7 separate regions of the Homo sapiens genome follow, and regions 2, 3, 4, 5, 6 and 7 are each linked to region 1. Evidence: promoter capture Hi-C in 16 types of primary human blood cells and fetal thymus (Javierre and others, 2016). All regions are on one chromosome and are shown on one strand. The core of a region is centred on a gene start or on the middle of the fragment in contact, and the rest is flanking DNA. Distances in the headings are between cores, read along the strand shown. Region 1 holds the start of KIAA1586. Region 2 has its middle 13 kb from the start of LINC03001. Region 3 has its middle 16 kb from the start of LINC03001. Region 4 has its middle 7.6 kb from the start of RAB23. Region 5 overlaps DST (dystonin). Region 6 overlaps BAG2 (BAG cochaperone 2). Region 7 overlaps DST (dystonin).

Region 1 (3,886 bases), core at 790-3,289:
AAATATAGAACCAGCCTAAATGCCCATCAATCAACAAGAGGATAAAGAAAATGGTGTATATACACATACATACACACACACACACACACACACACACAATGGAATAGTACTCAGCCATAAAAAGGAGCAAATACTGGTATTCACAGCAATCTGGATGGAACTGGAGACTATTATTCTAAGTGATGTAACTCAGGAATGGAAAACCAAATGTTGTATGTTCTCACTGATAAGTGGAAGCTAAGCTATGAGGACACAAAGGCATAAGAATGACACATAGGACTTCAGGGACTCGGGAAAGGGTGGGAGGGGGTGAGGGATTAAAGACATCGGGTACAGGATACACTGCTTGGGTTATGGGTGCACCAAAATCTCAGAAACCACCACTAAAGAACTTATGCATGTAACCAAACACCACCTGCTTCCTAAAAACCTATTGAAATAAAAAATACATTTTTATTTTTAAAAAATGTCCATACTACCCATACTACCCAAAACAATCTACAGATTGAATCCAATCCCCATCAAAATACCAATGACATTCTTCACAGAAGCAGAATAAACAATTCTAAAATTTATGTGGAACCACAAAAGACCGAGAATAATAGCAAAAGCTAACCTGAGCAAAAAGAACAAAACTGGAGGAATCACATTACATGACTTCAAATTCTACTACAGAGCTATAGTAACCAAAACAGCATGGTACTGGTATAAAAACAGACACACAGACAAATGGAACAGAATACAGTACCCAGAAATAAATCCACACACTTAGGGCATGGCTACACGGAGGAAGGGGTTTCTGAGCACAATACTCTGTGTGTGTTAACTTTGTAGTTTTGAAGTTAACAAGACCCTGGGCTCGCTATGCAGTCCGTATGTGATGTTGAACCCTTTACACACAGCACTAGACGGTTTTGAACCTATCAAAACACTGCTTCACTTAAATTTCACCAACTCCTTAAAATCCTAGTAAGTCTATGTTTTCCTTTGTTCCTATGTTCTCCTTTTCTCCCACTTTGTGGGTTGTCTGTTTACTCTGCTGATTATTTTTTTTGCTGTGCAGAAGCTTTTTAGTTTAATTAAGTTCAGTCTATTTATCTTTGTTTCTGTTGCATTTGCTTTTGGGTTCTTCATCGCGAAGTCTTTGCCTAAGCCAATGTCTAGAAGGTATTTTTCCGGTGTTATCTTGAGCAATTTTTATGACTTCGGGTCTTAGATTTAAGTCTTTGATGCATCTTGAGTTGATTTTTGTATAAGGTGAGAGATGAGGATCCAGTTTAATTCTTCTACATGTGGGTCACCAATTATCCCAGCACCATTTGTTGAAAAGGGTGTCCTTTCCCCACTTTATGTTTTTGTTTGCTTTGCTGAAGATCAGTTGGCTAATCAGATACCTCATAGCTCCTTTGTTGTATAATTTTGTGCATTGTAGATCAGGGTCAAAATGATAAAGGTGATTTTCTGGGACTACAGACTTGTCAATAACAGGTGGTCCTAGGCTGATAGAGGTAAACAAATAAAAGCTTTAAAAGAATATTCTCTGTTAAAATTTGCTTTCATAAATTTCATGTTTAAAATCATTTGTGAATAAATGTTAAAATAAAAAGGTGAGCCACGATTTTGGTAAGGCAATTTCTGAGCAAATCACACACAATTTTTTTTCATTCCCATTGATCTATTACATAGACGAATATTTGGTTGTGAAAAAGTGAGAGAAAGAACTCGGCTATTTTATTATAGTAGAGCAACACCGAAGGGAGACGACTTCGCTGTAGCTCAGAGTCTTTTTCCATTCTTCACCCACGCGCGGGGCAGTCGCGCGGCGCGGTCGCGCGGCGGGTAGGAACTACCATCCCAGCATCCTCTGCGGCGCGGGGAAGGAAGCCCGGGAATGAGAGAAAGAGGCTCCGGGGAGATAGCGGACCAGTGAGGGCTGCCCCTCTTTTGAAGCGGTTTTCGTCTCTTTCCGCCAGTGGCCTCCCAGCTCACGCAGGGGCGGGTCCCGGTAGCGCGAGGCGGTGCAGGGCGGGAAGGGGAGTGGTGGCGGCTGCGGCAGTAGGGACAGCAGGAGCAGTGGTGCTGTCAGCGCGGCCGTCGGAGACATGGGAGACCCGGGGTCGGAAGTGAGTAGTCGAGTGAGGGTCCTGGCGTTCTCAGAGGCGAACCGCGAAGGGTTTGTGTTTTCTGCGGTCTGAGGCCTGGTGCTCCGTCGCAGCCTCGGGGCGATACCTCTTCAGTGTCTTGGGCCGAGCCCAGCTCTGGGGCCTGGTGCGTGTCTGAGCGAGGAACCCGCAGCAACAATGGCCGCCCGGCCCCCCGCACGGGCCCTGGCGTTCGTTGTGGCCGCGGCTGGGCCAGTGGGAGCGACGTTTTAAGGCAGGATTGCCCTTCGGTGTTGAGCTTGCGTTCCTCCTGGAGTAGATAAGGGGAATTGTGAGAGGCTGGTAACTAACGCGTTTTCAGCGTTGGGTCCCTGCAGCTCCGCACACTCTGTGGCAAGAGCCAGAGCTCGAGTTCCGTTCCTAGTCGGGTTTCCGTGAAATTGTGCTCAGTTCGTTTTCCTCAAGAGCTCTCTGTCTTTAATTGTTCCTTTCGGAAACGCTCTCTTCCTACACGAATGTGGCTGAACAGATAAGCATGTTTTGGCTTGTTTTTATAGATAATAGAATCTGTCCCTCCAGCTGGCCCTGAGGCATCTGAGTCAACAACGGATGAAAATGAAGACGACATTCAGTTTGTCAGTGTAAGTAGCAATGATGATTGGGGTTTTCCCAGAGTAAAAGACTATGGTGGGCCATTATGTAATGTTACCTCACCTGGTCATTTAATGTTCATGAGTGTCTAATACATACTAGACACTGGAGCATGGCGCAGGATTGGGAAATTTACCAAAAGAGCTATCTGAGCCACCCCCGTAGCCATCACAAAGAGCACGTCCTAAAGAACGTGCTGTACACTTAATCTCGCCCCCTGCCTTTCATTTAAACTTAAGATAAAAACGCTGGTGTCTAAAACGCTGTTTTGAAATGGAGCAAGAGTAACTTCTAAAGGCGACACGGAGGAAGGAGCTGCTAATGATGAGCAAGGACGTAGAAAACAGGAAGGGTTGTGAGAGCCCAGAATCTTAGCGTTATGGTGCTTCTAACATGAAGGCAAATAGCTTGAAGATTTCTCTAACCTCTGAGATCATCATGTTACGGCATAGTACAGTTGATGCTCATAATGAAGAATCCTACATCACTGGGAACATGCTCTATTTTTCTGAGTTTGTTCCCTTTGAGACAGTAGTTTTCAAGCCTTAGTAAGTATAAACAGGCAGATTCCTGGGCCCCACTGCAGACCTACCGAATCAGAATTTCCAGGCGGGGGCCTAGGAATCTTCATTTTCAGACAAGTGCAGGGACATAAGGATTTCTGAGCACACTTTGGACAGAATGGGTTTCTAAAGCAGAAGGGAGTGTTTTATGATATATTTTGGGGTGATTTTCATCCATAATTGTTGGAGTTTTAGAAAGGCTTTGCGTAAAGTGGTATCTCAGCTCGCCAGGCAGAAAACAGTTCTGTCCCCAACTCGTCTTTTGGAATGCCGTAGTTAGTTGCAGTTTGGTATTCAGGCTGTAGAATTTTTCTTTAATGGAGTGTCTGTCTAATGTTTCTGTGTTTTTTAGTTTTTGTAGGTTTAGGGCGACTTTGTAAGTCACTTGTTTTTTAAATTAAAATTTCCTCCCTAAACATTGTTTTGTTAACATCGTTGTTTGTTTTTCGTGTTTTGTGTATAAGTTCTTTACCCTGTCACTTTCTGGACATATTTCCCAATTAATAGTGTGTGTATATTTTGTTCCTGACATTTGGAACCTTTCTAAATATTGATGATACCAAGGGAGAT
Region 2 (3,886 bases), core at 812-3,311, 230 kb after region 1:
GAGGCAGTCTGCCCGTTCTCAGATCTCCAGCTGCATGCTGGGAGAACCACTACTCTCTTCAAAGCTGTCAGACAGGGACATTTATGTCTGCAGAGGTTACTGCTGTCTTTTTGTTTGTCTGTGCCCTGCCCCCAGAGGTGGAGCCTACAGAGGCAGGCAGGCCTCCTTGAGCTGTGGTGGGCTCCACCCAGTTCGAGCTTCCCTGCCGCTTTGTTTACCTAATCAAGTCTCGGCAATGGCGGGTGCCCCTCCCCCAGCCTCCCTGCGGCCTTGCAGTTTGATCTCAGACTGCTGTGCTAGCAATGAGCAAGACTCCGTGGGCATAGGACCCTCTGAGCCAGGTGTGGGACATAATCTCCTGGTGTACCGTTTTTTAAACCCATTGGGAAAGCACAGTATTTGGGTGGGAGTGACCCGATTTTCCAGGTGCTGTCTGTCACCCCTTTCTTTGACTAGGAAAGGGAATTCCCTGACCCTTTGCGCTTCCCGGGTGATGCGAAGCCTCGCCCTGCTTTGGCTCGTGCACGGTGCGCTGCACCCACTGTCCTGCACCCACTCACTGTCTGGCACACCCCAGTGAGATGAACCTGATACTTCAGTTGGAAATGCAGAAATCACCTATCTTCTGCATCACTCACGCTGGGAGCTGTAGACTGGAGCTTTTCCTATTCAGCCGTCTTGGCTCCTCCCTCTGTTTATTTATTTTGAGACAGAGTCTTCCTCTATTGCCCAGGCTGGAGTGCAGTGGTGTGATCTCGGGTCACTGCAACCTCTGTCTCCCAGGTTCAAGTGATTCCCCTGCCTCAGCCTCCTGAGTAGCTGGGACTACAGGCACGTGCCTCAACACCTGGCTAATTTTTTTTTTTTTTTGTATTTCTAGGAGAGACGGGGTTTCACCACGCTAGCCAGGATGGTCTCAATCTCCTGATCTCGTGATCCACCTGCCTTGGATTATAGGCGTGAGCCACTGCGCCCAGCCCCTCCTCCCACATTTATACATGTGATGTCTTTCAATATCATCTCAGAATGGATAAGATGTAGATCAAAAATTCTGTCAAAAACAGTGCAAAAAAATGCAAGCAGACGAAATACCAATTTTCAAGGTAAGCAAGCAAGACTAGAGTTAAAAGTAGACTATGTGGTTGGGTGCATTGGCTCAGGCCTGTAATCCCAGCACCTTGGGAGGCCAAGGTGGGTGAATCAAATGAGGCCAGGAGTGAAACCCTGTCTCTACTAAAAATACAAAACAAATTAGCGAGGCGTGGTGGAGCACACCTGTAATCCCAGCTACTCAGGAAGCTGAGGCATGAGAATCACTTGAACCCAGGAGGCAGAGGTTGCAGTGAGCCAAGATCGTGCCATTGCACTCCAGCCTGGGCAACAGAGTGAGACTCTGTTTCAAAAAAACAAACAAATAAAAGTAGATTATGTTATTACTGGACAGTTACTACTGAATGAATCCAAATATTTGCTTTCTTCAGCCTTACACTTGGACTGCCAGGCTGCTAGAGAAACATAACAGGACAATTTCGTGTCATCTTTAAGTCAAGACTTTAAACAGAATTTCTGGAAGGAAGCAACTTAAATGCATTTCCTCCACTTTCATTGCCAGCCTAACACAGCTGTCGTCTCCTGAGCCATTGAGTTCTTGGGCCTACAGTGGCTGGAGAGTGCTGGCTCTGTTGGAGTCCTCATGAAAAAGTAGAATTGGACTTTCTCCCAGTGGGCCAACTGGAACTCCTTCAATCCCACCAAACGGGTAACAGAAACGTCCATAGCAGTGGTGTTCATAATAGCAAAAATGCAAAACTATCTATACATCAATTAGTAGCAAAATGAATTAATCAGTTGTCATATTTTATACAGTGAAATATTGTATAGCAGTGACGAGGAAGGAACTGGAGCTCCATGTTTCCACATGGATAAATCTCCAAAATATAGAACTGAACAAAGAAAGAAAATAAGCAAGTAGCAGTAGCATGCTAGAATATTATATAACTAATAAAAAGTTAAAAACTGGGCCAGGCGCAGTGGCTCACACCTGTAATCCCAGCACTTTGGGAGGCCAAGGTGGGTGGATCAGCTGAGGTTGGGAGTTCAAGACCAGCCTGGCCAACATAGTGAAACCCAGTCTCTACTAAAAACACAAAAATTAGCTGGGTGTGGTGGCTCACGTCTGTAATCCCAGCTACTTGGGAGGCGGAGGCATGAGAATTGTGTGAACCCGGGATGCAGAGGGTTGCAGTGAGCTGAGATCATGCCACTGTACTCCAGCCTGGGCAACAGAGTGAGACTGTCTCAAATAAAATAAAATAAACCAAAAACAAAAGTTAAAAATTATAAAACAATACCATTTACATATATATATATATATACATGCATACATATGTATGTATGTAAATACATATATAATAGTAAAAAAGAAAAGGTAGTGGTTACTTTTAGTAAGGGAAAAGCATGGGTGGAAAGACATATATAGGAGCTTCAATTTTAATGGTACCATCTTAATTTGTAAGCTGAATGGTAGATGAAGAAATGATCATTAAGATGTAATGATATATTTGGGAGGCCAAAACAGGCAGATTGCTTGTGCTCAGAAGTTTGAGACCAGCCTGAGCAACATGGTGAAACCCATCTCTAAAAAAAGAAAATAGAAAAAAATTAGCTGGGCGTGGTGGTGCATGCATGTATTTGGGGGGCTCAGGTGGGAGAATGGCTTGAGCCCAGGAGGTCGAGGCTGCCATGAACCAGGGTTGCGCCACTGCACTCCAGCCTGGGTGACCAACTGAGACCCTGCCTCAAAAAAAAAAAGATATAATGATATATGAAATGTAAGATTTTTTTTTTGCGTGTCTCAAATAAGTCAAAGAAGCATGGGGGAGAATAAGAAAAAGGAGAGGAGGAAGAGGAAGAGGAGAAGAGGAAGAAGGAGAAGACCACCTTGGAAGGACAAAGAATAGGAACCAGCAGGCCTGTGAGTTCCAGTGGGTGTGTTGTTTTGGGCAAGAAGTTACCATCAGAGAGACTCAGTACAAGAAGAGGGAATGCTGAGAGGCATTCCTGAGGTCAGAGAGTGTGTTTGCTGGGAAAATCAGATGACATGGGATGGGAAGGTATCCTTTCAAAAGGGGCAGGTCCATCCATTCCTTCAATGTATATTTATGTGCTCTGCACTGTTCTAGGACACAGCAGTGAACAAATCAGCCCAAAATCTGCCCTCATGAGCTTAGGTGTCTGGCAGGCAAATTCTGTATCTAGCCTGTTTGTGTGAACTTCCTAGCTAGGCATTCAGGGAAGGACAGAGATTTATTTACTCTACAAATATATATTGAACACTTCATATATGTCAAATAATGCTGGATGCTGGGGAGATGGAATGAGTCCCTGTCTTCAAGGAACTTACAATGCAGTGGGAAAAGCCTTATATGCAGTTACCCATTTAAAGTTAAATGTGTTGGAGGCAAGCAGAGTACCTTGGGAACACAGCAGAAGCCGGGGGGTGGTAGGGAGTGTTGGAGCCTGCTTCTGCTTGGAAAATGAGTTGATTTCAGAGAACCACGATGTGAATTCAGAATCAGTGTCAGTTCATTAGCATAGATTAAAGATTCTGGCCAGGCGCGGTGGCTTCATGCCTGTAATCCCAGCAATTTGGGAGGCCAAGGCGGGTGGATCACAAGGTCAGGAGATCGAGACCATCCTGGCTAACATGGTGAAACCCCATCTCTACTAAAAAAATACAACAAAAATTAGCCAGGTGTGGTGGCGGGCACCTGTAGTCCCAGCTACTCAGGAGGCTGAGGCAGGAGGATGGCGTGAACCCGGGAGGTGGAGCTTGCAGTGAGCCGAGATCGTGCCACTGCGCTCCAGCCTGGGTGACAGAGCGAGA
Region 3 (3,886 bases), core at 443-2,942, 200 kb after region 1:
CTCTCCACTGTTTCTGCTGCTGCATTTGCCCCCACCAGTCTAGGCTTAGGTGCAGGCCTACCCACCTTGGAGCCCTATGGTGCCCAGGATGGTCCCAAGGCATGTTACCAGGCCAGGTCACCAGGATGCCGGGTTGCTTGATGACTTCCATGCTGCTGTTGAGCATGCTCCATCGTCCTATCATATTAAGCTAAAAACACAAGATCAAAGATAAAATTGTTAATTATTCCAAGATAGTGTAGGTCTTTCTGAGTGCAAGGCTGTGCATGAAGCTCATACACCCATGATGCATCACCTGCCTACCTCTTACATGCTTTATGGGTTAGTTATATTTGCCATCACTGGAGGTGCCAGTAAACTCGCAAGGTAGCCTTTGTGTGAGGTTTGGTAACCAAATTGCCAAGTTAGCTCAGGGAACTGCAACTCATGTCCACCTTTCATCCACTTAGGCCTTGCTGTCTTCCCTCTTTCAGGTTTCAGTTTTGTAGATTTTGAGCCTAGATTCTCTTTCTCCATCTCTTAGAGCACAACCTAAGATAGCATTTTGATAGTCTAAGCTCCTGGTCTGGTGTAACTGCTTCCACTCAGAAATACTTCCTCTTCTCTGGAAAGGAAGGGATCAAACAATAGCTCAGTAAGAACATAATTATCAGATCAGGAGTGCCTGCAGATGTAAAGGTTCTGATGCCAGAATATGGAGGTGGAGGGAGTGGTCTTGGGATAGTGCAGGGGATGGGGTTTGGGGCATGAGAGTGCACTTGGATTACCTGATTATAAATGGCAGCACAATGAATTTTTAATATAAAGTTACAGCTTTAAAATTATTGAGAAAGATTAGTTGATTGGTGTCACTCTAGTCATAGAAAACATACAAATCTAATTCTGATTTTGTGCCAACAGACTATTATTTTTGTGCTTGCACACTTATTGTATCACATGCATCTCTATCCATCCATTTATCCACATATCTACAAATCATATATCTCAACACTGTAAAAAACTCCAGTTCCTTATAAATTACTATTTTATTTTCTCTTATTCTAAGCTTCCTTCCTGTAACTTATTTAATTGTTAACAAAATGTGTTATAGAAACCTGTGTTACTTGTTCTGCAGCCCATTTACGGGGGAGAAGATATTATGTTTCCTTGGTCTATGTTTCAAAGGTATCAACTCTCTTTGTTCCTGTATAACTACTTACATTTGAAGTGAAAAACTCCCAGAGGCCAACAGAAAATGGCTATGAAACTAGAAAGAATACTATTCTACCTACGCTAGTATATAAGTTTCCTAAGATGTTAGTGAAATACAGCTGGAGAAGTGCTTCAGTTTGGCTCAGTTTTGTTTTGGCCCAACTCTTACCAATAGCTCCTCTCCAATCTCCAGGAGATACGCCGTCCTATCGGTGATGGGGGAGGAGCAGGAGTGAAAGACAGGATGGTGTTGCAACAATTCAAAACCCCAGAGCGCACAGTTACCCCCAATGCACTAATCAGGGTGTAGGTACTATAACTTACTAAGCCTGTTTAATAAATCCATGCCTGTACTCAGGTGAATGGGGAATGGTGAGAGAAGAGAGAACACTGTGATAACCAACCAGCTCGAACAGGGAGGGGCAGCCAGCCCACCGTTGCAAGGAGAGCTGGGCAGATGTCTATCAAGATAACCATTTCTGCTGCCTGCTGATTCTCTCACCTGCCAGTTTCTGCATCTGCCCATAGAGTACTCATGTGCTCCTTCCTGTACCAGATGATCTCCCTGGACTTAATTTCTTTTTTTTTTTTTTTGAGACGGAGTCTCACTCTGTCGCCCAGGCTAGAGTGCGGTGGCGCGATCTCAGCTCACTGCAAGCTCCGCCTCCTGGGTTCACGCTATTCTCCTGCCTCAGCCTCCCGAGTAGCTGGGACTACAGGTACCCACCACCATGCCCGGCTAATTTTTTGTATTTTTAGTAGAGACGGGGTTTCACCGTGTTAGCCAGGATGGTCTTGATCTCCTGACCTCGTGATCCGCCCGCCTTGGCCTTCCAAAGTGCTAGGATTACAGGCGTGAGCCACACCGCGCCCGGCCTGGACTTGATTTCTTGATTGCCTGCACCTAGAGTATCCATCGTCTTTCCTACGTGGCTGGGCAACTAGGTTTATCCCTTTCAGGCTAGCCCTCCTTCATTGCCATAACATCTAGGGGTGACATTGACTGAGTTGTATATGATTATTCATCATTTCTCGGGCCTAGATAGATTGTGATGAGTTTTAGGGCTTGTCAAATTTCAAGGCTCTGTTTTTATACCACACATAATTTTGGGAATTTGTAAAGTGCTTAATAATTATCCATCAATGAGTAAGCTTTGAAGGAAGATTAAAAAGTATTATGAAATAAATTACAGAGTTATAGTTGAGGCTTATTCAGAGCAAAATTATTTTTGGTGTATTTTGAGCACTAGGTAAATGTCAAAGGCACCCATGAGAAATAGCAAAAACTGCTGTAATAGTATAAATTCTCATTTATAGCTGCTGCAGAAGAGATGCAAATGTTCTCTATGTGGTTGCTCTGTGTGAGGAGGTGTTTCATGGGACTATCAAAATCCTATCTTAGGTTGTCATTTTGGACACTAAAAATTTTCAAGTAATAATTTAAAGAATCTTGAGGTTTCCTTTTGATATGGCCTAGAAACCTTTGGCAACTAATTTCTGTATGACTCAAAGGATTTCCCCTAGAAGGGAATCCTACTATTTGGGCTTTTAAAAATAAACTGTCATTCTGGATACATTTGTAGCCCTGACTAGTGGGTGAGCATGAGTTTCATTCTGAAATCCAGAAAGAATAATGAGACTAAAAAAAATCAAGACACTGAGTACAGTATATTAGTTAATATAGCATATAATTCAATGTTTGCTTTAGAATTTTGAATTTAGCCAAAAAATAATTGGATCAGGTACTAATGATCAAAATGAGATCACGTGAGGAATTAAGGAGTGTACATAAGATCTTGGATTACATGTTACATAGTCATGTGGCGTAACCAAATGTATCCAAGTGTATTTACATGTGACTTTGAATTATAATGGCAGAGAGTTGGTCAAGGAAGAAGAGTACCCAGGCACCCAGCAAGTTAACACTGGAAACAGATGGTAGGAGCGGTTTCAAATTGAGCCAACTTATTTAAATTACAAAGAGATCTTCAAGTTCATTTTGCTATCCATAGAAAGCAATAAATCACACCTATTAACTTACCTAATTGTCTTTAGCTAGCAATATTAGATTCAGTCTCATACTCCTTTAACTTTCATTTAATAGTGTTATTGGTTGAGGGTGGGTTGTTGTCCAGGTTCTTGGTGTTTCGAACAAATAATTGAACAAAATGCACAAACAAAGCAAGGCAGCAAAAGCAGAGATTCATTTTAAACCAAAGTACACTCTAAAGGGTGGGAGTGGGATTGAGCAACTGGCTTAAGAGCATAGGTAACAGAATTTTCTGGGGTTTAAATACCCTCTAGAGGTTTCCCATTGGTTTATTCTATGCAAATGAAGTAGTGGCCCACTACCAGTCTGATTGGTTGTTGGAGGGGACCAATCAGAATGAAGAGTAGGCCTGCAACCAGTCTGATCCATTGCAGGAGGGGACCAGTCAGAGGTAGTTTCATTTTTCAACTTCCCCTCGGAAAAAGGAGGGGCTGAAAAGGGAGTAGCCTCTGATATCCAGTCAGCATGAATGAGCCTTAGGCTCCCTGCCTCCAGACCCTATTCTCCTGCCTCAATAGCAGTTTGAGATAAAATGCAATGTTTGAAAGCTACCTTACAGTGAGTTAGTGATTTCCGTTTAATATCCTTAATGTATTACTTCAAAATAACAGAATTTATTGAACAACACACAAGTCAATTTGCTTA
Region 4 (3,886 bases), core at 467-2,966, 180 kb after region 1:
ATCAGTAATTGAGGTTTTGTGCTTAAAGTTATTTTGCAACCAGGACTAATTCTTAATTTTTTAACCACTTCTACTCAACAAATATATAAAACACTTTAAATATTGATGCATCTCCTGGTTTTTGGTTTTTATTTCTTGATATCTTATAGAAGATCTACAAAACTAGAGTTAGAAGCCAGAAAGAAGCCTCAGATGGTGATAAATAAAAATGTTCTGTCTTAATGCTGATTTTTTCAGTAATGAAGTGGTATAAACTCATTACTTTCATGAAGCTTCCTAGGTCATGAAAATAACATTGTTGTAGAGCTTCCATGTGCATCAGGTATGACTGAATAGTTTGATGCACTTGCAAATCACAAAGTGCCTTCCTTTGAAATGTGTAAGGCAGGTTGAGATGCAGCTTCTCAGATGGATTTAGTCCCTCCTAGGACTAGATGTCTCCTTGTTGCAGCTGAATTCTCATTTCATTTACCCATAACTAGAAACACCTCATGAACACCTATTTTAAACATTGAGTTGCCATCAACCTGAGGGACCAAAGAAATGGATTGAGGGCAGGGAGTAGTTGGAAAGAGCAGGGAATTGATTTAAAGATGAGACATGTGCGATAATGAGGTACAGGCACTTTGTGGGGTATGGGAGGGCCCCAGGTAGACAGGAGCTGGCATATGGCTTACAGTCATCCAGCCAACGTTATTGGGCTCTTACAACTCAGGCTTCGGAGCCAGAATCCCTATATTTGAATTCCAGCTGTACCACTTACTAGCCGTGTTACCTTGGACAAGTTACTTAAATCTCTCAGCGCCTCAGTTTCCTCACTTGTAAAATGGAGATAATAGTAGTACTTCCTGGAGTTATTAGAGGAATTTAATGAGTTACCATACGTAAAAGCACTTAGAAGAGTGTAAGCCCTCAAAAGAGTTAGTAGAAGTACTAGTAGTATTTGAAAGTTACTAGTTATATGGGAATGGAAGGGACAGAAATGTCTCCAAACGGACTCATCTCTAAGTGGTGAAATGCCAATGGCATTGCCAATGATATATCTTTTTCTCCTCCTTGCTAGAGTTTTTCTTCAGCTTTACTGCTCTGCAGTGTCCAAGTATGGATTGTTTTTATTATATCTACAGTATTTAGTGTGCTACTTCAATAATGTCTTTCTTCAGTTCTGCAAAATTCTCAGCCTTATATCTTCAAATATTGCCTCTAACCCATTCTATTTTCTTTTTCTGGAACTCCTATTAAGAGAGGCTGATCCTAAACCCCTCTTATAATTTTCATATCATTATCTTTCTGGCTTTATTATGTGAAATGGCCGATCTTCCAGTTTACCAATTTCTTCTCCATCTATTTCTATTCTACAGTTTAAATTTACCTGAGTTTATAATCTCAATGAACTACATTTAAAATTTTCCACATGTTCTCTGTTTTGTTAAAATTTCTTTTCTCCTGTAGTCAAATTATTGTATTCATTAGGCTTTTTAATCTTTTTTTGCATTACTTTAATTCTTTTTTTATTTATTTTTTTTTTTTTGAGACTGAATCTCGCTCTGTTGCCCAGGCTGGAGTGCAGTGGTGCGATCTTGGCTCACTACAGCCTCTGCCTCCCAGGTTCAAGCAATTCTCTTGCCTTAGCCTCCCGGGTAGCTGGGATTACAGGCACATGCCACCACCCATGCCCAGCTAATTTTTGTATTTTTAGTAGAGACAGGGTTTCACCATGTTGGCCAGGCTGATCTCGAATACCTGACCTCGTGATCCGTGCACCTTGGCCTCCCAAAGTGCTGGGATTACAGGTGTGAGCCACTGTGCCTGGCCTGCATTGCTTTAATTCTTTTGAACATAATTATTTTAGTCCCTTTGCTATTGTTCCATTATTTCCAATTCTTTTTTGTTGCACTCGATGACTCTCCCTCATGCCTCCTTTGGTGGTTTTTAATTTAGGAATGTGAAGTCATCTTCATGAGGGCTGCCTTTTCTATGGGACTTCTATATGCTTAGCCCCTGTACAATGGCTTGATATCTGCTTTTGATATTTGCTTTTGTCAAAGCCAGGGCTTCAGAATGTTCAAAGATGTGGGAACAGCATTTAAATTCTCAGCTTGGAATGCCCACATCACATAGGTAGCATAAATTCAGAAAACATGTCCATCCATGGTGTAGGTTTTGGGCCTTGATTCCTCCCAGAAACATTTCCCCATTCAGGATCCTGGGGGATGGTAATCTTCCTTGTCGCTTCCCTGTTCTCCTTGACAAAATTTTTCTAGCTCCCTTTTCACTGAATTGGTGCGTATTCTAGTGCCTTGTTTTTATGTCTGTGTCTCACTTCCAGCCTTCTCTTTCATCTAGACCAGGACATCTCTTCAATCACTTGGGAGCATTCAACCTTCTGTTTTGGTCCTCAGGTGGGGCACTTTCTTGGCCTGTCAGGACCACTGGGGATTCCCCTTTCTTTGTTTTGACATAGGCTATTGTATTTTTTGTTGTTGTTACAGTTTATCTTAGTGTATATGTTTATCTACGCTTATCAAGGCTGTGCATATCTAGTGGGAGGGTTGATATCAGTTCAGTTAGCATCGTTACAGGAACAGGGAGTCTTGCTTTATTTTTTATTGCAAATTAATTCTGATCTGAGACATCACTTGCCAGGGGTCGTAAGATACCCAATGTCAGTCTTTAAATTAAAGATTTCCTTCTCTTTTCCATAGTTGCACAAGACTTGTCAGAGGCTTGCACAGTTTGGAAAACTTAGGCAAAGACCCTGGTACTCAATTGTGATCATCACTGTGATGTGAATTGCCCATGTACATTGAGTCTATTTGAATAAATCTACATCCTTTGTGCCCAGTTTGGTTATAAGTATCTTTTACCTCAACTCCCAGGGTTATGGAGGTTGGTGTTCATGTCTCCACCACTGAGAAGCTGAAGCACCTTCAGAGGCTGTACTGTATCTCCTGGTAAAGCCAGGCACAGATACCTGTAGTTTTTGGAACCTGCTACCTCCATCAGTCTCTAGGAAACTAATTACATTTTTTCAATCCTAAGGATCCACCTCTTGAGCAGAATGGTGAGGACATTTGAAATGTGTAGGTACATTTTTTGGTTATCTTAATGACTAGGGTATACTATTGTTATTTAGTGCCTAGAAACCAGGGATATCCAGTGAAGCTTTCCAGAAAGTCCACTGGAGACTTTTCTTTGAGAAACATTGTCTTTTCCATCCATATGTGAGATGGTCCAACTTAATCCTCTTGGAAAGACCATACTTAAAAAAGTTTTTACTTTTCCCCTAGGGAAGGTGTAATGAGCTCAGACCTTTTTAAAAATACAATGTTAGGTTTCTCTTCCTGTGGTAGGGAGGGGAAAGGGATTACTTTATTCTACTTGGTAAATACTTATCTCAAAAACTCACCTTGAATTACAAATAATGATGCAAAAACAAATTACAAACTGAGAAAAAAATACTCTCAATATATGACAGATAAAGGGCTAAATTTCTTTAATATACAAAGATCTCTTACAAGTCAATAAGCAACAAATAGGCAAAAACCACTCACATCCAGATACTGAAATGAAAGATAATAGCCTATTGACATGAGTATATTTAATATCTTCACAATTCAGAAAATGCAAATTAAACAATAAGGATATAATTTTCCTTGTGTCTGATTGACAAATTGAACAGGTTAACATTTAATATGGGGAAGGATGTGGGAAAACAAATATTTTGTTGGAACGTAAATGGAATTAACCCTTTTAGAGAGCAATTTGGCAAAATATATCAAAATTATAAATGTGTATTTCCATGTGTAACAATTTTATTTACACCATTTTCTATGAGTGCTTGAAAATATTAGTATATTCCAGGTAGAATCCCTAAGGGAAAAAA
Region 5 (3,886 bases), core at 1,029-3,528, 160 kb before region 1:
GGTAAGCTATGGCTGTGTCCTTTAAAATAAAGGAAGCTATACCCATCTTACCAGAGCAATTTAAGGATTTCTTTGGTTAGAGGTGAAATAATAAACTAGACCATCTTTGAAGGGGCTTTCTTTTCAGTCCTTTGATCCATAGTTGTCCATGAAAATTTTCAAAGTGTAAGTGACTATCTAAATGTTTTCTTTAAGTTTCCTTGGTTTGGAGATTAAAGAATTTAAGGTTTTTTTTATTTAAGACAACAGGTTGTCATCACATACAAGAAAGACATAGAAAGAATGGCAAGAGGTCTTGCTTCAGTCAAAATACTGACCTCAAAAAAGAATCATGAGTTATGAACACATGCTTATTTTTCTCCAAGCAGAACACATGAATCCCTTTACCAAGTTAATCTTGGTTTCATGAGTTGTTTATAGAGACTAAACTGTTCATTCAATACAGTCTACCTACCTTGCACATTCTTGTGCCCCTGTGCATTAATTATTCCAATACCTTACTGTAATTTATTATAGCAAGCCTATAATAAATGAAATCTTTTTTTTTTTTTTTTGAGATGGAGTCTCGCTCTGTTACCAGGCTGGAGTGCAGCAGTGCGATCTCGGCTCACTGCAACCTCTGCCTCCCGGGTTCAAGCGATTCTCCTGCCTCAGCCTCCCAAGTAGCTGAGACTACAGGCACGTGCCACCATGCCCAGCTAAGTTTTGTATTTTTAGTAGAGACGGGTTTCACCATGTTGGCTGGGATGGTCTCAATCTCTTGACCTCGTGATCCGCCCGCCTCAGCCTCCCAGTGTGCTGGGATTACAGACGTGAACCACCACACCTGGCCATAAATGAAATCTTTTATAAAATTCTATTAATTATGAACCTAAAAAGGGAGGTACAGCAATATGTAGCAAAGACTCAGTACATTGAATGGGTGTCATTCAAAAAAATTCTTTTCAGATAATTAGCAAAAGAAATTTGACTTTATTAATCAATTCATTCTCCAGAATTCCAAAGGGGAAAAGGAAACAAATGTTTCCTCTAAGAGCTTTGGATTTGCTAGTTAATTAGCCAAAGTAAGGTATGAGTTGTACAGTTATGCCTTCCACAAAAGGGGAAATATCCTAAGGTTATGCACATAGAGCTGCCTGGTCCTACATATTTGAAAAGGAAAGGGAAAAGGAAGACCATTTTAATAATCTAAGCAGGAAAGGAACACAGAAACACCCTGCTATATTTTCAAGAGATCAAGGATATATGCTTAAGTCTTTCCTACACTCCAAAAAGTTCCCAACTACAAATATGACAAAATCTGGTTAATTTAATTATTACAAATTAAAGCTATATAATGTTCCAAAATATACTGCAGCCTTACAAAAACCTAAGCTGTAATCAGAAAAACAGAAAATTTCCCCAAGACTGAAAAACAGAAACCCACAACAGAAGGAAAAGAAGGGTGAGGTCAAGGAAGTGGTGGTTTAGTTGGGGAGAGTTCAGGGAAGGGAAAATCTAATGAGTACATCTGGGACTTCATTTCCTGCTATTTTCTCTAGTCTCTACCTGAGTGGCCTTTTCTTGGCCTAAAATGAATAGCCTTAAATCAAAGTCAAGAGCTACCTAGACCCATGTCTGCTTAAGGCATTTATATTTCTGAGTGAAGAGTTGGAAGTTATAAGCGATCCTCAGTCCTCTTCCCAAACTCTCATCACTGGCAGACTCCAAGGCTCAGACCTCAAGTGTCTTCTCTTCTCTATCAAATTCATTTTCGGAGTCATCCCACCCAGTCTTATAGATTTAATAACATCTATGTACAAATAATTCTCACATCTTCCATGAAATCCAGACACAAGAATATCTAATAGTTATTTCAAACTTCACATATCCAAATCAGAAAATTTTCTTTCCAATCCTCAATCCAAACCTGCTTCTTCCTTTGTGCTTACCATTTCAGAAAAGAGGATCACCCAATCACCTGTGTTAGGCCCATATGTCCTCCAACTCCTCAGTCAAAACTGTCAGGTTCAAAAATCCCATTGCTTGATGGTGGTGGGAGCCCAAAAGTAAGAAAACAGGTGCTCAGAGGCTAAGATTTTGCCAGCAGGGAGAACAAGCTGCAGCTTTGGCAATAACCTGGGAACACTAGCAATTTTTAATTATACTTTTTCAGCTCAGTGAGAAAGTCTCAAAGATTCTAAGTCACCAGGAAATGCAGGCAATGCTGTTGCAGTGTGCAAAAAACTGGAATCAGTGAAATGTAACAGGAGTAGAGTCAGTATGTTTGATTATTTCCTGATGCTCTAAAACTGTTATTTCCCCATACCCACCCCCAATCTCAAACACATAAATACTTTTTGGGTCTGAAAGTTGTACATTAACAGGTTCATGTGAGCAGGCAGTAGGGCAAAATTACTCTTGCTTACTTCTTGCTACCTCCTAGGTGCCCTGCCACAGAAAGAGGGGGCCAATTTTGCCAATAAAATGATGGCAAAAATGATGTTTGAGGTTTACCTATGGTTTTCAATACCATTTTAAAGATAGGTTTTAATTGATGTAATAGTTTAAAAACACAAAGATTTCATCCATATCTACCATCTATGCAGTTAGAAAAATGAGACTCAAAGTAATTAAAATACTTCAGGAAGGCTGATGAGGATAAATGTCTAGCACTAGAATTGTAATCATGGGGAGTTCTCCATTCCTTACTCAAAAACGGCTCAAGCCAAGAGTGCCTAGGTTTAAATGTTAACTCCATGATCTACCAGCTGTATGACCTTGACACATTTCCTCCCTGGAAAGTGAGCACCGACTCCAGAGAATCGCTGAGAAGATAAAATGAGAGAAAAACAGAGAAGAGTGCAGAGAACAATGCCCATGTATTGTCAATGAGGTAAACATGCAGTAATGCAAGAGTTCTTATGATGATGATGATGATGTTTAAAAATCCTGGGATTCAGAAACAAAACAAAATGCTTTGTAATGTGAAAATACTAAGGAATAAATGGAGATCTGGATCTAATTATCTTTTCTGTTTCAAGATGGTAAAAAAAATTCCTAAGCATCCTAGTGACATATCTTAATATACAGTATAAATCCAAATACATATGTACTGAGAGGAAATCAGGATAAATTTTTAGTTTATCCACTTTTAGAAACATCTAAAACAAGGAGTAAAATAAAAAATCTAGATATTATTAAGTTTTTATTAGTGATCCCCATTACAAATTCTTATAGGTATATTTGCATATAGCTTACAAATCCAGAATAAGTAAATAGGTTAAAACAGCTAAGGATGCTAAAGTATTTGCATTTCACATAACACTTCAAGAGGATGGTCTGACTGAAAGTAGCTAAAACTGCACAGTCACGCTTTCTGACTCATCTCCTTTGCAGTTACTTCTGTTTTCAGTCTTTCTCACTCATGGGCCTATTTCTTATTTAGATTGCCACTAGAAATGCCTTGAGTGCTTCATATAAAGTCATTCAAGTAATCCTGAATCACCATAACTGATTTATTTTTACTCCATCTCCAAGCTATAATCAGAGTTGCTTTCATGGCAACACGTCATAACACTGATTTTCTCCAAATGTGTACGTTTAGAAAAGACACAGGCTTTAGACGCATGTTGAATAGGGTGGCTCTAGCAGGCACTACTGGCTGCACCTAACCAAATCCAGAAGAGGACACAAAGCCTCAGTTCAAGCTCATATATGGCATTAAAAGCAGGGAAATGTCGGCAGAGGCCAAAAGGTTCTAGAAGCCTGCACAGGAATTGTGTGAGACAAGGAGCCAACAGCCTTCTCACTACCAACTCTGACAACGTCCAGTCTCTCAGACAACTGACAGGAGATGCAGTAAGACACCCTGAAGACCTCTCCCAGCTGGATGTGGTGGCTCATG
Region 6 (3,886 bases), core at 923-3,422, 140 kb after region 1:
CTGAGTCACATTTTTACCCTCATTTAAACTATTGTCTTTTATATAGACTATAAGTGGATATAGAGTATGTTTTGCTGTATCTCAATTCTCTACCATTCCTAGCATATAATACATAATTTTAGGGTAGCCCTCCTGCCATTCCTTGTTAGCACTACTTTCAATAAAATGAGAGTATTAAATATTGGCAGAGTATCTGAAATATGAAATAATTTTAGGTTGCTTTGATCTTTAAAGAAGTTGCATTATATATTTTACTATTTAGATCCACACTGTTGATACAATCATACATATCACACAAAATTTTAGCTTTGAAATGCATTTATTTTCTGATTATTGGAATTCATCCTTCATGAAATTTTTAGAGTAGTGTTTTAAATTAAGCTCCAGAGTGTAACTGCAACCAAATAGCAATACATACAAGTGGTTTTCCATTCAAATTTACAAAAGCATTATTTATTAGTAATAAAAATATAGAAGGAATTCAGTTTTCCTTTTATCCCCAATTTTTTGCTTTTAAAAGACCATTTACTAACATCCTACTGTAGATATTTCGAGAGACAGATGAAAATAATAATAATAAAGATTATTATAGCCAAATCATCCAGTTAGCCAGGAGTTTGATGACTGGATATTTCAGAGTCTACTGCGGGTTTTAAATATTTTGTTAGCAAATGAATTCATCTGTATGATGAGAGACTTACATGTTTTATAGCTGAAAACCTAAGGAGTGACAATAGTACATGTGACATTCTTAACAGTTAAAAACTGAGTAAGTCCTGTTCATTAGGTAGGTGCCATGTGGAACAAGCTTTCACCTCATCAATGCATTTTGTTTTCAGAGAAACAGACTAATGATAGATTAATGGGAACATTTTATCAGGTTAGCAGTAACTATTTCAAAGGTTTTGAAAAGTATGCTAATAATTAACAATATCTTATATTAAAAGGGTCCAACACTAAGTTGGGACATTAGGTCCTAAGGCCAACTCCCTATTCTAAGGTCTTCAGAAAAGGTCCAGTTTCCTAAAACTCACAGGTCCAAGGAGTACATGTTATTTATTGAGAGTTCCTTCTGAGCACTGCACTGCCAACTTCTAAAGCAACCACCTAGAACTTCACTCCATAATGAGGAAAAAGTTTTCATCCTCTTTTTGGTAGTTTTAGCTTTATTTTGAAAAAGTAACGTGTGCTATCAACTTTGGGCAGATACAAAGGAAATCATTTAACCTGGTTTTATTTAACTATATTGCCTTATATGGGTCATTCTATATACTATTTAATTCATAGACAGAGACTGGAAAAGGAAAAGGAAACCTGAGGAACTCTGAAATATGGCAGTTATTCCACAGCGATATGTCTACGCAAAAGATTAGCCGTAATGTTAAAAAAGTAGATTAGAGCACAAATGCACAATCACCTGGAATCTTGGAAAAGTTTTTCTTTAGTATACATGGTTTCATAAAATTAAAGTTATTTAAGAGAATGAAGGGTCTTGGAAAAAAAATGTCAATTTTTGAAGGCTTTAAGAATTGATTAAATTGAGAAATTAACATGGCTGACTTTCAGGCCTACTTAATTATTTTAAATGACTAATTATGGTTAGGTTTAAAATACAGCAGTGCAAATTAAAAATTCAAATATGTAACAAAGCTCTCTCTTCAGTTCTTATTTAAAAAAAGATAAAACTAGGTACATAAAATTATATTACAGGAACTGTAACTATCCTCAGAGATTACTTTTTTTAAATATAGAAAGGTAACACGCTTTTAGCCACACAGCTAACATGAAAAAGAACTAACTAGAACACATATAACAAGTGATTTTTCTGCCAATAAAGACAAAAGACTATTTGTTGCAAAGTATTATTTTGTGCAAAAATTAAAGAGGAGAGTAGAGAGTAGAAAATTGAAGAGAGTAGAAAAGATGACTCATTAGCAGTATCCACTGTTTGTTAGGAACTGAATTTTGCCCCCAAAACCTATGTCACTATCAGCAATGGGAGTGGTGACAACTGGTGACATAAAAATAAGCATTTTACATTACTGTGAAATAGATAATGCCAGATCATTTCAATATAATGAAAAGCAAAAATTTACTTTTTAATTTTTTTTATTTTTCCATCTAAAATGGCAAAGAGAACATTTACTTTTGATCACTTAACAAGGACACACCCAGGAAATTTGATTTTCTCAACATTAGGAGGATGAGGGGAGTACAGATGGAAAAACAAAAGATAAAACACAAAAGGAGTACATAAAACATTGTTTAGTACAAATAATGAAAAATGACTTCATGACATTTTCCAATAAAAGTTATTTTTACAGATTTTGCAATGCTGTAAAAACCAGGTATATTGAAAGGGGTTATTTATAGGTTAAAAATAAAGCCATTGATGAGTGATAATCAGTTTTAACAGAGTTCACGCAATTATCTTAGCTGGAAAGCTACTGTCCCAAGTGACAAAATTTATGTCCTGACACATGATTACATATTAAATCATTTTGTAAAAGAAATGATTCTGTATGTGGGACTGACAGCTCTTGAGAAAGTGCTATACAAACAAGGTTATAGAAATGTTGAAGTGATTGATAATCTTAAAATACCATACAAAAATGTGTAAACAAAAGGATGGTTTAGAGTTGCAGGGCATTATAAAATATGTAATTTTAGTTAAGACTAATAATAATATTTTTGTGCACTTTAAAAATGGTTAGTGTAATCTTGTAAGTTCAAAGCTGGGTTCTCAGTGAGCAGCAAAAGGTGTTAGATGCATCACCACACTTCACAGGACCTCCTGAATGACTGCAGATGTGCTGTGTACCTTCTTAAGGGGCTTTGGCTGACCTTATGAGAGCAGGAGCTCACCATGCTTATGGGTGACTATATCAAAAAGATCTGCAATAAGGCTCACCTGGGAGATGCTCTAGCATTCAAATTCCTATACTCCTCTTTTATCTACGCTGTCAGATGAAAACTGCTTACTGCTTTTAAAAGATATAATAAACAATATAAATTCTGATAGTAAAGCACTATAAAAATTAGGTATGATATTTTTGGCACAAAGCACTTTTTAAACCCAAGCTCATTTTGCAAAATATATGTCTAGAGTTTATCATTTGAAAATAAAAACATATACACAATATGTAAATGGTTTTATAAGTGAATTAATTAGAATGTACATTTTCTTAAATACTGCACATACCTTCAGCTTACTCCAGTACCAGACATCTGCATGCACACCCCACATTCTACATTACACAGATATTGCACAAGTTTCAATGCCAAAATACTAATGCAGTCTGGCAAGATTTAGGGTTTACCTTTCAGTATTATTTTGTGAAAGTATTCAGATTCAATACTATTTCGCAGAAAAGCTACATGACCAATTTCAGGAAAAGAATGCTTGCTATCTTTCCTTGATCCACAGTATTAAAATCTGTAACAATATATTTAGGCATTTCATTTATGTTTTCCAGCATTTAAAATTCCGCAAAACCTGTGTTTGAAATTTCTTATAGCATTCCTTTACAAACAGGAGAAGCTTCGTCTAATGTAAAAAAAATTAAAGGAGTCCACAGGGCAATAATTTTTCCACCAGAGGTCTCACTCTACATTCTGAAAAGCACTGCAGAGCAATATTTAAGTCTGTCACTTTCAGAGAGCCATTAGGAGCAAAGTCTGCTGAAAACCTTGTAACATACCATGACAGCTGGATGGGTTTCTTAATGCATTGCACAATGTAATTCAATTGTTTTCCTCCCAAAACATCTTAGGGTATGCTACAGCTGCTAAAAGGATTTCTGTTTTTCTTGGTCCTTTGTTTGTTGGGTCTAAGATTGATGACATCTCCACCATTGAGGGTACCTGAATTCTGACCGGAGTGACT
Region 7 (3,886 bases), core at 454-2,953, 130 kb before region 1:
ATGGGGCCACTGTACTCCAGCCCTGAGACAAGATCTTCTCTCTCTCTCTATCTCTCTCTCTCTCTCTCTCTCTCTCACACACACACACACACACACACACACACACACACACACACACACAGAGAGACAGAGAGAGAAAAGCTATTCAGGCTTTTGGGCTGGAGTTCCAGGCAGGATTTCAAGTCCCAAAGGTGAGCTACATTACTAAGGTAGGGAAGCAGCATTCACTGGGCCCCCATGAAATGGATGCTTGCCAAGACTCGCCATCAAGCCCCAGGCATGCTAAAAAAAAAAAAAAAAAAAAAAAAAAAAAAGACAGGCAGAGGCTCCTAACACACACTGCTCGGACCAGGTATTTCTCAGAAACAGCAATAGCCCACTGAGGATACACACAGCAGAAAGGACTGACCACTCCTGCCCACTGTCTGGGGGCTGAACCTTTGCCCTTGCATAGATCAAATGTGTATTTGGTCTGTGTTCAAGTCTTAAATGCTTTTTCTGGCAGCACATTCTCTCTCAAAAATCTGCTTACTCTGAAGACACACTTAGCAAGAAAGGAGAAAAAATATTTTCATGACCTAAAATCTTCTGATAATTTATGCTGAGTAAAGACAGAGAAAAAGCAGAAGGGAAAGCCAACAGGAGCAGGTTTTAAACAAAGATGGTTAATCAAAGGTTTGTGAGAAATGCTTGTGGCTAGTCCATTTTGTGGTGGCTACAGCATTTTTTACTGTTCATTTCTGCTCTGTCTTTGACAATGCATTACATGGATATCTGCATAAACTGTGCATAAGAAGTCACCTTGTATTGACTCCTTTTCCTAAGATGATGTTACTGAATCCAGATCAGTAGCTAAAAGCTTTGAAGAGATTTTTGTTACCTTCTCTTGCCCCTCTTGCAGTTATTTAGGCAAGAGCTATGAACTTTTTAACCTGAATCATATTATTCCTGTTGACTTTTCCCAGTAGACTGATTTAAAAGAAGTTTATTTCAATGTGGCTTTTTAAATAGCACTTACCACAGTTTGACTTATCATGGATATGAAGGGGAGGGACAGCTTCTTTTTCATCTTTGTGTCCTTCATTGCTCCTACTTATGTTTGGGCACAAAATAGACTCTCAATATGCTTTGGGTTTGATTTTTCCTTTTTAAAGATCTACTTGTGTGAAAATTTCAGAAAAAAACAAATTAGAAACTAAATCCACCTAAAATTGCAACCCTTTTTTGAACCCTATAAATAAGTGTGAATGTCCCTGTTTTGAATCTTCAAATACATCCCTCTAGAGTAATCACTGTGATGTTAGTTCCTATCATCTTGACTTCTCCTATAAAAATAATTCAACAAAAATGGGATCTTGTTTTATATATATGTTTTCTACATTGCTCTTTTTATGACATTTCAGGTTCAGGTGTACATTCTTTTTTTTTTCTTTTTTTTTTTGAGACAGAGTCTTGCTTTGTCACCCAAGCTGGAATGTGGTGGCATGATCTTGGCTCACTGCAACCTCCACCTCCCGGGTTCAAGTGATTCTCCTGCCTCAACCTCCTGAGTAGTTAGGATAACAGGCACGTGCCACCACTTCCAGCTAATTTTTGTATTTTTAGTAGAGACAGGGTTTCGCCATGTTGGTCAGGCTAGTCCCAAACTCCCGACCTCAAGAGATCCACCCACCTCAGCCTCCCAAAATGCTGGGATTACAGGCATGAGCCACCACACCCTCTTTTTTACAACTGAATAATTTTCTAGTTTATGCACGTACCATACTTAACTATTTTCCTACTGACTAGAATTCGGACATTTTAATTTTTTTCCAGTATAAACAGTGGAATAAACAAAATATCTTCAACTAAATCTTCTTTACTTAGAAGTGGTATTTCCAGTCCGTAGGAAAAAGTTTGAGAGATACTACAGGTACCAACTTTGTCTCTAAAAATGTACCAAATTACATTTCTAGCAACACTATGAAAGTGCCTTTTTAATTCTATTATCTCCATCAACACTGGATAATATAAATCTTTATATCTGTTGCCTATGTGATGGACAAAAGGCATTTTGGCATGCACCTGTAATCCCAGCTACTTGGGAGACTGAGGCAGGAGAATTGCTTAACCCGGGCGACAGAGGTTGCAGTGAGCTGAGATCGCACACTCCTGCACTCCAGCCTGGGTGACGGAGTGAGTTTGAATTTGCGTTATTTATTAGTAAAGTTAAAAATCTTTGTATATTTTTATAAGCCATTTTTTTCTCTGAATTGTCTGAATTTTTAAATTATTTTTTATATTTTTATAAGCCATTTTTTTCTCCGAATTATTTTCTTCTCTGAATTGTCTGTTCACATGCTTTGCTCATTTTTGTACAACTTATATGTATTTCTTATTGATTTGAGAAGTTTTTTATATAATATGAATAAAATAATTTACTATATATGCAGCAAGTATTTTTGCCTAGGTTGCAATCTGTCTTTTCATTTTGTTGTACATAAGTTTAGAATTCTTTTATTCAAAACTGCCAATCTTTTCCTTTATGACTTTTAAATGTTTGTCCTAGAAAGCTTTTCCCAACTGCAAAATTATAAAACATTCTCCTATACCTTCTATTTTTTTAAATCCTGTAAATGTACACTTATAATCCATCTGGAATTAATCATATGTACATTTTAATCCATCTGAAATTAATTTTTAAGTATAGTGTGAGAGACACAACTAATTTTATTTCCTGCCAAGTGGGTAACATCATCTACTTAACTATCCTTTCTCCAATGAATTTATTGTATTCATTTTTTAATTTCCTAAATATGTTAACTTTTTATTACAGAAAATTCCAAAATATAAAAAGATTTTAAAAAGAACCCTAAGTACCTATCACCCAACTTTAACAACCATTAGTGCCTCTCTATTGATTCCAAATGCCCATCTTTATTATTTACTAAACTCCTACATAAATTTGGATATATATATTTGGGCCAGGCAAGGTGGCTTACACCTGTAATCCCAGCACTTTGGGAGGCCAAGGCAGGCATATCACTTGAGCCCAGGAGTTTGAGGGCAGCCTGGCCAATATGGTGAAACCCCATCTCTACTAAAAATACAATAATTAGCCAGGCATTTTGGCATGCACCTGTAATCCCAGCTACTTGGGAGACTGAGGCAGAAGAATTGCTTAACCCGGAGACAGAGGTTGCAGTGAGTTGAGAGCCCACCATTGCACTCCTGCACTCCAGCCTGGGTGACGCAGTGAGACTCTGTCTCCGGGAAAAAAGAAGGATATATATATCTAAACACTCTGCTCTGCACCACTTCAATCAATGTGGTTATTTTTACAGCAATTATATAAACACATAAAAATTTTGATAAAAACAACAAATATATAGACTGTTTACACTGCATTGCAATGAGATAAAAAGTGTAGTAAGATACAGGCTAGCTACTGTAACAAAGAGATCCAAAAGTACAGCTATTAAAATAAGATCCAGTAACCAAGGGATCTAAGAACCCAAGATCCTACTCTATCACTGCTCAGCCTTCCCCTCCAATATTACTTGCCCACAGGGTTGAAGCTAGTTTACCACCACAATTCCTTCCCAGGCATGAGAAGAAAGGGGCTATAGGAGGCAAGCTGATTCTTTTAAGGGCTTGACCTGGAATGTGTATATATCACCTCTACTTATATCCAATCGGCCATAACTTAGCCATAGAGTCACACACATCTGCATGAAAGGCTGGGAAATGAAGTCTCTAGCTCGCTCACCATGCGCCCAGCTACAACCAGGACATTTCTATTACAAAAAGAAAAGAATAATTCTTGGTAGAAATTCATAGTCTCTACTACAGTGAGCAACCGTTAAAAATTTTTTGGATCACGGAGTTTCATTGGTTGTCTATAAAA

What was found. Contacts are between HindIII fragments. The CHiCAGO score rates a contact against its expected background, and 5 or more counts as called.
Region 2: a fragment that was not itself captured here is called in contact with the fragment with the promoter of KIAA1586 in region 1 in 1 of 17 cell types (total CD4 T cells); the score reaches 5.1 in total CD4 T cells.
Region 3: a contact is called between a fragment that was not itself captured here and the fragment with the promoter of KIAA1586 in region 1, in 11 of 17 cell types (activated CD4 T cells, total CD4 T cells, erythroblasts and 8 more). The highest score is 10.7, in activated CD4 T cells.
Region 4: a fragment that was not itself captured here is called in contact with the fragment with the promoter of KIAA1586 in region 1 in 9 of 17 cell types (activated CD4 T cells, non-activated CD4 T cells, total CD8 T cells and 6 more); the score reaches 13.3 in activated CD4 T cells.
Region 5: a contact is called between a fragment that was not itself captured here and the fragment with the promoter of KIAA1586 in region 1, in 2 of 17 cell types (erythroblasts and megakaryocytes). The highest score is 10.0, in erythroblasts.
Region 6: a fragment that was not itself captured here is called in contact with the fragment with the promoter of KIAA1586 in region 1 in 7 of 17 cell types (erythroblasts, activated CD4 T cells, naive CD8 T cells and 4 more); the score reaches 9.5 in erythroblasts.
Region 7: a contact is called between a fragment that was not itself captured here and the fragment with the promoter of KIAA1586 in region 1, in 2 of 17 cell types (erythroblasts and megakaryocytes). The highest score is 8.9, in erythroblasts.

Annotation. Positions count from the first base shown.
Region 1 is chr6:57,044,654-57,048,539 of GRCh38, forward strand. It overlaps KIAA1586, which reads left to right and starts at 2,040. Exons shown (of 4, transcript NM_020931.4): 1 at 2,040-2,123; 2 at 2,660-2,743. The coding sequence starts at 2,103. RefSeq lists a silencer at 798-1,092 and enhancers at 1,722-1,811, 2,628-3,505. The HindIII fragment of the contact is 6,924 bases long and covers 1,522-3,886 here.
Region 2 is chr6:57,274,089-57,277,974 of GRCh38, forward strand. It overlaps a transcript of PRIM2 not described here. Among named protein-coding and RNA genes, the nearest start is that of LINC03001, 13 kb to the left of the region's middle. The HindIII fragment of the contact is 6,529 bases long and covers 1-3,886 here.
Region 3 is chr6:57,245,088-57,248,973 of GRCh38, forward strand. It overlaps a transcript of PRIM2 not described here. Among named protein-coding and RNA genes, the nearest start is that of LINC03001, 16 kb to the right of the region's middle. The HindIII fragment of the contact is 1,298 bases long and covers 1,044-2,341 here.
Region 4 is chr6:57,227,975-57,231,860 of GRCh38, forward strand. It overlaps a transcript of PRIM2 not described here. Among named protein-coding and RNA genes, the nearest start is that of RAB23, 7.6 kb to the left of the region's middle. The HindIII fragment of the contact is 2,893 bases long and covers 271-3,163 here.
Region 5 is chr6:56,887,416-56,891,301 of GRCh38, forward strand. The region is part of intron 3 of DST (dystonin); the gene reads right to left. Among named protein-coding and RNA genes, the nearest start is that of DST-AS1, 45 kb to the left of the region's middle. RefSeq lists enhancers at 133-302, 3,285-3,344 and a cis regulatory region at 218. The HindIII fragment of the contact is 4,927 bases long and covers 1-3,886 here.
Region 6 is chr6:57,186,692-57,190,577 of GRCh38, forward strand. BAG2 (BAG cochaperone 2) reads left to right here. Exons shown (of 3, transcript NM_004282.4): 3 at 1-3,142. RAB23 (RAB23, member RAS oncogene family) reads right to left here. Exons shown (of 7, transcript NM_016277.5): 7 at 301-3,886. The coding sequence ends at 3,770. Among named protein-coding and RNA genes, the nearest start is that of BAG2, 16 kb to the left of the region's middle. The HindIII fragment of the contact is 2,733 bases long and covers 807-3,539 here.
Region 7 is chr6:56,916,704-56,920,589 of GRCh38, forward strand. The region is part of intron 2 of DST (dystonin); the gene reads right to left. Among named protein-coding and RNA genes, the nearest start is that of DST, 36 kb to the right of the region's middle. The HindIII fragment of the contact is 1,693 bases long and covers 858-2,550 here.